Linked DNA regions of Homo sapiens: region 1 is linked to region 2. Evidence: promoter capture Hi-C in 16 types of primary human blood cells and fetal thymus (Javierre and others, 2016). All regions are on one chromosome and are shown on one strand. The core of a region is centred on a gene start or on the middle of the fragment in contact, and the rest is flanking DNA. Distances in the headings are between cores, read along the strand shown. Region 1 has its middle 9.7 kb from the start of PDIK1L. Region 2 holds the start of DHDDS (dehydrodolichyl diphosphate synthase subunit).

Region 1 (4,924 bases), core at 2,180-4,679, 330 kb after region 2:
AAGCATGTGCTATTATTGTCCTCCCTTTTACAACTGAGGAAACAAAGGTTCTAAGAGGTGAAAGAACTTGTCCAAAGTCACACAGGCACTTCAATTGGGGTCTAACTGCGTGTGTGTGTGTGTGTGTGTGTGTGTGTGTGTGTGTGTGTTTGAGATGGAGTCTCGCTCTGTCCCCCAGGCTGGAGTGCAGTGGCACAATCTTGGCTTACTGCAACCTCCGCCTCCTGGGTTCAAGCGATTCTCCCACCTCAGCCCCCTGAGTAGCTGGAATTACAGGCGCCCGAGTAGCTGGAATACAGGCGCATGCCACCACTCCTGGCTCATTTTTGTATTTTTAGTAGAGATGGGGTTTCACCATGTTGGCCAGGCTAGCCTTGAACCCCTGGCTTTAAGTGATCTGCCCGCCTTGGCCTCCCAAAGTGCTGGGATTTCAGGCATGAGCCACCATGCCCGGTTGTGTGTGTGTGTGTTTTAAAAGACTTTATTTTTAGAGAAGTTTTAGGTTCACAGTGAAGTTGAGTGGAAATTACAGACTTCCCATATACACCCTGTCCCCAAGGCACATCTTGGAGTCTTTCTTCCCACCAGATTGCTGACCCTGAATTTCTCCTCTGGAGAAATTATGAGAGGCATCATTGATGCATTGTTAGAGACCTAGTACCCACTGAGCCAACCACAAGTTGTTATCAAAATGCCACAATGAGGTCATTAAGGGCGACTGGCTAGGCCTGTCAGTGAATGTTTCCGGAGCAGCTCCTAACTGCTGTAGCAGAGAGAATCCCCGACAGTGTCCCCTCCCTTCTTCTTCCCAAGCTTGGGGAGCCCCAGCCCCATTTCTTTTCTTTTCTTTTCTTTTTTTTTTTTTTTTTTGAGATGGAGTCTTGCTCTGTTGCCTAGGCTCGAGTGCAATGGCACAATCTTGGCTCACTGCAACCTCTGCCTCCTGGGTTCAAGCGATTCTCCTGCCTGAGCCTCCTGCGTAGCTAGGATCATAGGCATGCGCCACCATGCCTGGCTAATTTTTGTATTTTTGATAGAGATGGGGTTTTGCCATATTGGCCAGGCTGGTCTCGAACTCCTGACCTCAGGTGATCCACCCACCTCGGCCTCCCAAAGTGTTGGGATTATAGGCGTGAGCCACTGTGCCCAGCCACCCCAGCCCCATTTCTGCAGGGGGAGGCTGAGGGAGAAACTCCTTTAGGAAGGGTATTAGCTTTGGCACTAACACGCTGTGTCATCTTGAGCAAGAAAGACTCCCCCCTGCTGTGGGCCTCAGTCTCCCCATCTGCAAAATGAGGGGGTCTGACCAGCTCATCTCTAAGGATCCTTATAGCTCCAACACTCTGATTCTTGAATCCTACACCTCCACTATGCTTGTAATAAGAAGATCAAAATGTTTATTTCTGATCCAGCCCCTGAGACAAGTGATCTGGGGGCCCACAAAGGTCTTGCACCAGGTATAACATTAGCTGTTTTTGTCTTTGGATGGGTCCTAGTTGTCTTCTTGGTGAGGACTGAGAACAGCTGGAGCAGCTGATGGTTAAGACCCAGGTTCACATCTCCTGCCCCTGGGTCCAAGAGCTGCTGGGGATGCCACCATCTGAAAACCATGCTGGATGGGGGTGTTGGGAGTGTCCCAAACTGAGGATTCACCCGACTCCTCAGCAGGTCCTGAAGTGTTAAAGCTTCGGCTTCCTCTGATTCTCTGGCCTCTTCTGGATGCTTCATGTTGCAAGAGCAGAAACTCAACTCAAAGTGACTGAAAGGAATGATTGGTACATTTACCTAAGAGAAATGGAGGTGGGAGGGCTAGCTTCGGGAAGGAAGTTTGATTCAGCAGCTCACATGTCACCAAAGACTCTAGTTTCCTCTGTTCTGCCTCCCATGATGCTGCCTTCATCTTAAGGCTGGCTTCCCTTGTGGGCCTCGGGGTCACCAGTGGGAATTCAGCCTTATGAGATCATATCCTGCAGGAATGAGAAAGTCAACTTCTCTATTCCTCAAACAACATTCCTGAAATTAAGTCTTGTTGGACCTGATTGGCTAGGGGCTAGGGAGTAGGGGGTAAGAGATAGGGTTGTGGGCCCCTCCTTGACCAAGCTCTGTGTCCTGAAGGATGGGGCTTACTGGCAGGCTTAAATTCAGAGGCTGGTGGGTGGCTAACAAATGTCTTGACATATACCCCTCTCTTCAGAAGTCAACTAGTGCCTGGCACATGGTGGCACTTTGTTCGTTAAGTCAACAGCTATTTGGTGAATATCCACCACGTGCAAGAAATTGTGCTTGATGCTGAGAAAAAGCAGTGAACAGAAAGATAAGGTCCCTGCCCTCATGGACTTTCTCTGGGAGGGGAGACAGACATATAAATATGCAGACAGTACAATTCAACCAGTGCCAGCTGAGGTTACATAGCCCAGGGGAGGAAATCCAAACTGTGCTTCTGTGGAGGGGAATGGCGGGCAGGAAAGCTTTAGAGAGGAGGTAGCATTTACACTGGGCCTTAAATTTAGCCATTCCACAATGTATTCATATTTCAAAGCATCATGTTGTACATATGAGTAAATAAATACAATTTTTGTCAATTTAAAAAATAAATAGAAATTTGAGGGTCAGAGTGAGACACTCCTTTAAGCTGACATTCTTCAAATATTTGCTCTATGGTTATTTAGAGCAGGGGCTGGGAAGGAGGCACAGATAACCACACTTAGCCTCTCGATGGTCCTGACCTCCTGGACCCTGGACAAACCTGTAGACTCCACAAGGCCCGCTAATTCATGTAGCTGCGAATATTACTTAGGCTGGCCCCTGACCTCCCAGCCCCAAGCCTTATCCACATTTGTCTTCCAACAGTATACAGAACTCTCCTGGAGAGGAGTGCTAGTGAATGGAATATTCTGCAATGTGTATGGGAGCCAAAGTGCCAGGCACCGTGCTAGGCACTGGGGATGTGGCCATGAAGGAAACATACGGCATACACAATGTGTCTTCGTCTGTTCATGCTGCTATAACAAAATACCTTAGACTGGGTAATTTATAAACAACAGAAATTTACTTCCCCCAGTCCTAGAAGCTGGGAAGACCAAGATCAAGGTGCCAGTAGATTCCATCTCTGGTGAGAGCTGCTGTCTCTGCTTCCAAGATGGTGGCTTGGTGCTGCATCCTCACAAGGCAGAAGTGGAAGGGCAAAAAGGGATGAATAGCTCCCTTGCACCCCTTTTATCTTTTTTTTTTTTTTTTTTTGAGACGGATTCGTGCTCTGTTGCCAAGCTAGAGTGCAGTGGCACAATCTCGGCTCACTGCAACCTCCGCCTCCCAGGTTCAAGTGATTCTCCTGCCTCTGCCTCCTGAGTAGCTGGGACTACATGCACGTGCCACCACACCTGGCTAATTTTTTTTTTTTTTTTTTTTTTTTAGTAGAGACGGAGTTTCACCATGTTGGCCAGGATGGTCTCAATCTATTGACCTCGTGATCTGCCTGCCTTGGCCTCACAAAGTGCTGGGATTACAGGCATGAGCCACCGTGCCCGGCCCCTTGCACGCTTTTTATAAGGTCACTAATCCTACCCATGATGGCTCCACCCTCATGACTTAATCACATACTAAAGGTCCTACCTCTTATCACACTAGCAATTCAGTTTTAACATGAATTTTAGGGGGACACATGGAGACCATAGCGCAGTGCCTGTTCTCATGAAACTTGCCTTCTTATTTACACCCACAATGATCATGGAAAGAGACACATAAATACAGTTCTGGAAAGCGCTATGCAGGAGAAGCTCTAGGGCGCATGAGACTTATTAGGAGGCAGGGAGGAGGGAGGTAGTATGGGCCACGGAAAGCCTCTGAGCATATGACAGAGGCCTTTTTTTTTTTTCTTTTTTTTTTTTGGAGACAGTCCCACTCCGTTCCTCAGGCTGGAGTGCAATAGTGCGATCCCAGCTCACTGTAACCTCTGCCTCCCGGGTCAAGTGATTCTCCTGCCTCAGCCTCACAGACAGCTTGGGACTACAGGCACACACCACCACTCCTGGCTAATTTTTTGTATTTTTAGTAGAGACGGGGTTTCGCCATGTTGGCCAGGCTGGTCTTGAACTCCTGGCCTCGAACTCCTGGCCTCAAGTGATCTGCCCGCCTCAGCCTCCCAAAGTGCTGAGATTACAGGCGTGAGGCAATGCACCCAGCCACATGTGACACTTATGCTAAGAAATGACCGAGGGGCAGAAATGAGCTAAGTGAGAAGCGGAGGGAGGAGCATGCTTGGCATTCAGGACGGCCGGTACCAGCTGCTCTATGCAGGCCTCAGCTGGAAGTTTAAATCAAGAGCTGGGGGGAAACGATGGGGAGAGGAAGATACTAGGAAGCTCCATTGTGGGTATAAATACAAGCTTTTGCTTCCAAAGCCCAACTTTATCAGTAATAAGGCCCATATTTTTATCTCTCCATTGCCTTGATTGCCATTGGGATTTCCTAATAGGTCCAGATCCCAACTGGAGGGGGAATAAGTTGTAAGGTTTAGCCTTAAAACCCCTACACAAGCAGGGGTGATATCCTGTAGGGTCTTGTAGATCATGTTATGGATTTGGGCATAAAAGCAACAGGTCAGCAAGGGTCTATTTTTTTTTTAATTGTGGTAAAATAGAGGTAACATAAAATTTGCTGATTTAATCATTTTAACTGTATAGTTCAACGGCATTAAGTACATTTATATTGTTGTGCAACCATCACCACCATCCAGAACTTTTATTTTTATTATTATTGTTTGAGATGAAGTCTTGTTCTGTCTCCCAGGCTGGAGGGCAATGGTGTGATCTCAGCTCACTGCAACCCCCACCTGCCGGTTCACACAATCTTCCCGCCTCAGCCTCCCAAGTAGCTGGGACTATAGGCATGTGCCACCATGTCTGGCTAATTTTTGTATTTTTAG
Region 2 (4,566 bases), core at 918-3,417:
AAAATCCATTCAAGTTATGCAGCTTGTTCTTCCAAACATACCACTGCAGTGGTTCCCCAAGGAGATACTTCCCATTTCCTGGACTGCTTGAGATCACTTGGCATTTGTTTGTGAGCATGTGTGGGGCTTGTATAAAGGTTACTGACTCATAAATTCATTACTACCTGCTGCTTGACAGCCTGTGGTTGAAAAACAAAACCAAGCTGACTGGCCCCAATCTCAAACCTGTCTTAGGCAGATATAATATTGCTGTGATTCCTAGAGAAAAAGCTGAGGGAAGATTTGGGGAAGATAGGAGATAATAGTCTTCAAATGTCTGAAAGACAATCCTAATAATAATTAAGAACTGCTAGACATTATGCTAACTGCTTTATATTAATGTCTCATAAATTCTCATGATAATTCTACAGTTGTTAAAGTCACATGATTACTAAATGATAGAACTGGACTTTCAGGCCAGGTGCAGTGGCTCAGTCCTATAATCCCAGCACTTTGGGAGGCTGAGATAGGTGGATCACCTGAGGTCAGGAGTTCGAGACCAGCCTGGCCAATATGAGAATCCCATCTCTACTAAAAATATAAAAATTAGCCATGTGTGGTAGCATATGCCTGTAACCCCAGCTACTTGGGAGGCTAAGGCAAGAGAATTGCTTGAACTTGGCAGATGAAGGTTGCAGTAAGCCAAGATTGCGCCATTGCACTCCAGCCTGGGCGACAGAGCGAGACTCCATCTCAAAATAAAAAAAAGAACAGGAATTTCACCCATGTTTGTCTGCGTCTAGAGCCCAAACTCTTTTTTTTTTTTTTTTTTTGAGACAGAGTCTTGTTCTGAACTCTTTTTTTTGAGACAGTCCCGTTCTGTCACCCAGGCTGGAGTGTGGTGGCACAATCATGACTCACTGCAGCTTTGACCTGGGCTCAAGAAATTCTCCCACTTCAGCCTTCCGAGTAGCTGGGACTACAGGTGCACACCACCAAGCCCTGCTATTTTTTTAATTTTTTGGAGAATCGGGGTTTTGCCATGTTGCCCAGGCTGGTCTCAACTCCTGAGCTCAAACAATCTGCCCACCTCAGCCTCCCAAATTGCTGGGATTACAGGCGTGAGTGACCGGGCCCAGCTCTACTGACAGATCAAAGAATATATCAAAGATTAACCTATTTAAATCAAGAAGACAGTACATGGAACAATGGATCAATGTTCCAGGGAAACAAATTTCAGTTCTCTATAAAGAATACTTAGCAGTCTAGGCTGCCCAGTGACATTAAGAGGCCTGGGCTTCCAGAAAATATCAGAGTTAGGACAAAAGTCTACCAGAAATGTAGACCTGGAAGTTACCATTCTAAGACTCTTTGGTTTCCTTGCTAAATTCCACTTAACATCATGAATTGCACTTAACATCATCAACTTTAATAACAGGTTTTTATATAAGATTATCCAACTGACCAGAAGGCCAACCGGTGCTCTGGGCCATTGCTCACCTTTATGATGTTGGCACAGAACCGCTCCCAAAGTGACAGCTCTCCTTCCTTGATCCATGACATAGTTCTTTTCCAGTCAGAAGATCACTCCAGAACAAGCAAACACCAGCCAGGTAATCTTGGATAAACAAGAAAGAAAATAAGAAGTCACCAAGGTTTGCGAAGAGCTATAACTGACTTCTGGGGAATCAGATGGACTATGGAGAGCAGCCAGCATTAGAATCCAAAGACACTGGTCTAAGCCTATAATCTTTTACCACCCAGAGTTTTATAACGCAATGTGACCTCTGGAGGCAAAAGCCTTTCCTCGGTTCTCCTGGCTTTGCAGACTTCTTCCCATTCCCATTTCCTCCGTATCTGCACTGACTTCTTCTGAACATCTAAGTCGGTTTCCTGCCACATCATGGTGCCCACATCTTGATCATTCCCCGTTTCTTCCTTCTCCATCTTCCCCTAAGCTGTTTCCAACTCTGTGCTCCCAGTTACTAACTCCTTCAGTTATCGCACGCCTAGTACTTCACGCCTCAGTGGTCTCCTGATTATTCCCTCAGTCGTCCCTTTGCTTCTCCCGCAGCTGCTCCCCGCCCAGTCACCCTCTTCTCCTCTAGTTCACCCCTTCAGTTCAGTGGCACCTGATTAGCTCCGCTGGGCGCGTCCCCACGGCTTCAGTGGGCCGGCACTTCCTCATGACGTGGCGCTGGCAGAACACGTCATCTTTGGGCGCTGCGACACGCCCCTTCCGTCACCCAAACTGAGGGGACCCTGCCCTGCGCCTGCGCCTGCGAGCTAGTGGGAGGGCGGTTCTCAGTCCCGCGGGGTGTGGAAGCCGGCGCGGGTGAGAGCCAGGCTCACGTGACCGAGCGGGGCGGGAGGCTGGGCTCCAGGCCACGTGCTGGGAGACCAGCTGGGGAAGACAGGGTTGAGCCCAGCGTTGGGAGCGGAGGCGTCTGGAAAACGCGCCAGGGAAATGAGCCAGGGGCAAGAATCGAGGCGCTTCTCGGCCGTCGAAGGCAGCTTAGGACTGCTGAGAGACTGGGTAAGGCAGCGTCCTTACCTTGGAATGCCGCAGAACCGGGCTTCATTAGAGCACTGGTGCATACTCTTAAAAATTATCTCGTTACCGTTTCGTATTTTATTTAGTGGATTTAATCGTCTGGGAAGGAGTTTCTAGCCGCAGCCAATCTTACAGACGCGCAGAATATTAATCTATTTTGTGCCGACTTAAGGCACGCATATTTTAGGATTTGTGGATTCCCAAGACCTATCCCAACGAACTCAAGAGAAGGGGTAAGGCCAGAAAGATTTCTGCCATAAGAATGACTTCTAGGCCAGGCGCGGTGGCTCACGCCTGTAATCCCAGCACTTTGGGAGGCCGAGGCGAACGGATCACCTGAGGTCAGGAGTTTGAGACCAGCCTGACCAACATCGTGAAACCCCGTCTGTACTAAAAATACAGAAAATGAGCCGGGCGTGGTGGCGGGCGCCTGTTATCCCAGTTACTCGGGAGGGTGAGGCAAGAGAATCGCTTGAACCCGGGAGGCGGAGGTTGCGGTGAGCCAAGATCAGGCCACTGCACTCCAGCCTGGGCAACAGGAGCGAAACTCTGTCTGAAAAAAGAAAAAAAAAAAAAGCATGACTTCTAAAATAACAGAAAGGTGCTCGCTTTGGCAGTACATAAATGAAAATAACAGAAATTAACCCTGGTAGAAAAGTTAAGGGCATTAGCTCTACTGAACCTTTACGAAAAAAAGGGTTGCAAGAATTCTAGGCTCACAAAACAAATTTGTAGTTCAATTTTCTCAAAATTGAAAGAGGAGGAAAAAATTCTTTACAGATTCTTATACAACCAGTATTATTTTTATTTATTTATTTATTTATTTATTTATTTAGAGACGGAGTCTGGCTATGTCGCCCAGGCTGGAGTGCAGTGGCGCGATCTCGGCTCACTGCAGCCTCCGCCTCCCGGGTTCAAGCGTTTCTCCTGCTTCATCCTCCTGAGTAGCTGGGACTACAGGCGCGTGCCACCAAGCCTGGCTAATTTTTGTATTTTTAGTAGAGACAGGGTTTCACCATTTTGGCCAGGATGGTTTTGATCTCTTGACCTCGTTATCTGCCTGCCTAGACCTTCCAAAGTGCTGGAATTACAGGCGTGAGCCACCGCGCCCGGCCACAACCAGTATTTCTTGCAAAGCATAATACAACTTTATGTAGTATTATGTTTTGAGTGGAATAAAAATTCACAATTGTCAAAGAACCTTTTTGTCGCATTTCATTTTACAATATTATTAAAGAAATGAGGCAAGGAAGAGATGTTTTATTGGCACTTTCTAATTGATTATGTCTTCCACTCTTTCTAATGAAAGGGGTTATTTTAACACAGCAACATGATGAAAGAAAGCCCTAGAGATGAGTAGAAATGAATAGTGTTGAGCTTTTCCATCCTTCCTGCTTTGCAGCCTGGGGAGTAAATTTCAGTCCAAGTTACTTCATTTTGCAGCAAGACAATTTAATGAAGTCCACTAGTAGTTTGCTGCTTCATGAGGTTCTACTGTCAGCTTTGACTTTTGGTACAATTAAGGAGCCACAAAGTCCCTGGAGTAGATTATGAAACTTCTTACCCTTACTCTTATAATGTCAGGCTTGAGGATTTAAACCAGTTTCCCTGTTTCCTTGCACGGTGTTAATATACTTGGTTTGCCTCCAATCAAGTTTTTTTTTTTTCCTTTTTAAAATCCTCCTTCCCTTAGTGGGAATAGATGTTTAAAATTCAGTGTTCTTGCTTGATGACTTGTGATGTATATAAAAAAACTCGATGTTCATTAAAAAGCTAGCAAACTTTGGCTCAAAGAAAATGTTGCATTTATAGCTAGTCAGTGAATCTCCTCTGGCCTCAATTTCCCCAGTTCCACAACACATTTCTCTCCTTGGGGTGCTGCAAGCGGTTAATTAATTAAGATTTGTAAAAGGCTTTGAGGAGTAGGGGACAAAGTATTATTAGGGTCTCATGCCCCAAGCCATGGCCCCATCCTTTCATCCCAGCCAGTGGCACAGGCAACCCCATTCTTATGCATGCCAAGCCCCTAATCC

The links. Contacts are between HindIII fragments. The CHiCAGO score rates a contact against its expected background, and 5 or more counts as called.
Region 1: a contact is called between a fragment that was not itself captured here and the fragment with the promoter of DHDDS in region 2, in 2 of 17 cell types (naive B cells and M2 macrophages). The highest score is 8.2, in naive B cells.

Annotation. Positions count from the first base shown.
Region 1 is chr1:26,099,711-26,104,634 of GRCh38, reverse strand. No RefSeq gene overlaps it. Among named protein-coding and RNA genes, the nearest start is that of PDIK1L, 9.7 kb to the left of the region's middle. The HindIII fragment of the contact is 1,917 bases long and covers 2,471-4,387 here.
Region 2 is chr1:26,429,922-26,434,487 of GRCh38, reverse strand. DHDDS (dehydrodolichyl diphosphate synthase subunit) reads right to left here and starts at 2,167. Exons shown (of 9, transcript NM_205861.3): 1 at 2,112-2,167; 2 at 1,480-1,597. The coding sequence starts at 1,542. LOC124903883 (a long non-coding RNA gene) reads left to right here and starts at 2,251. Exons shown (of 2, transcript XR_007065557.1): 1 at 2,251-2,515; 2 at 3,370-3,733. RefSeq lists enhancers at 1,848-2,337, 1,875-2,411, 2,438-2,497, 2,568-2,627, 2,412-2,948 and 1 more. The HindIII fragment of the contact is 8,751 bases long and covers 1-4,566 here.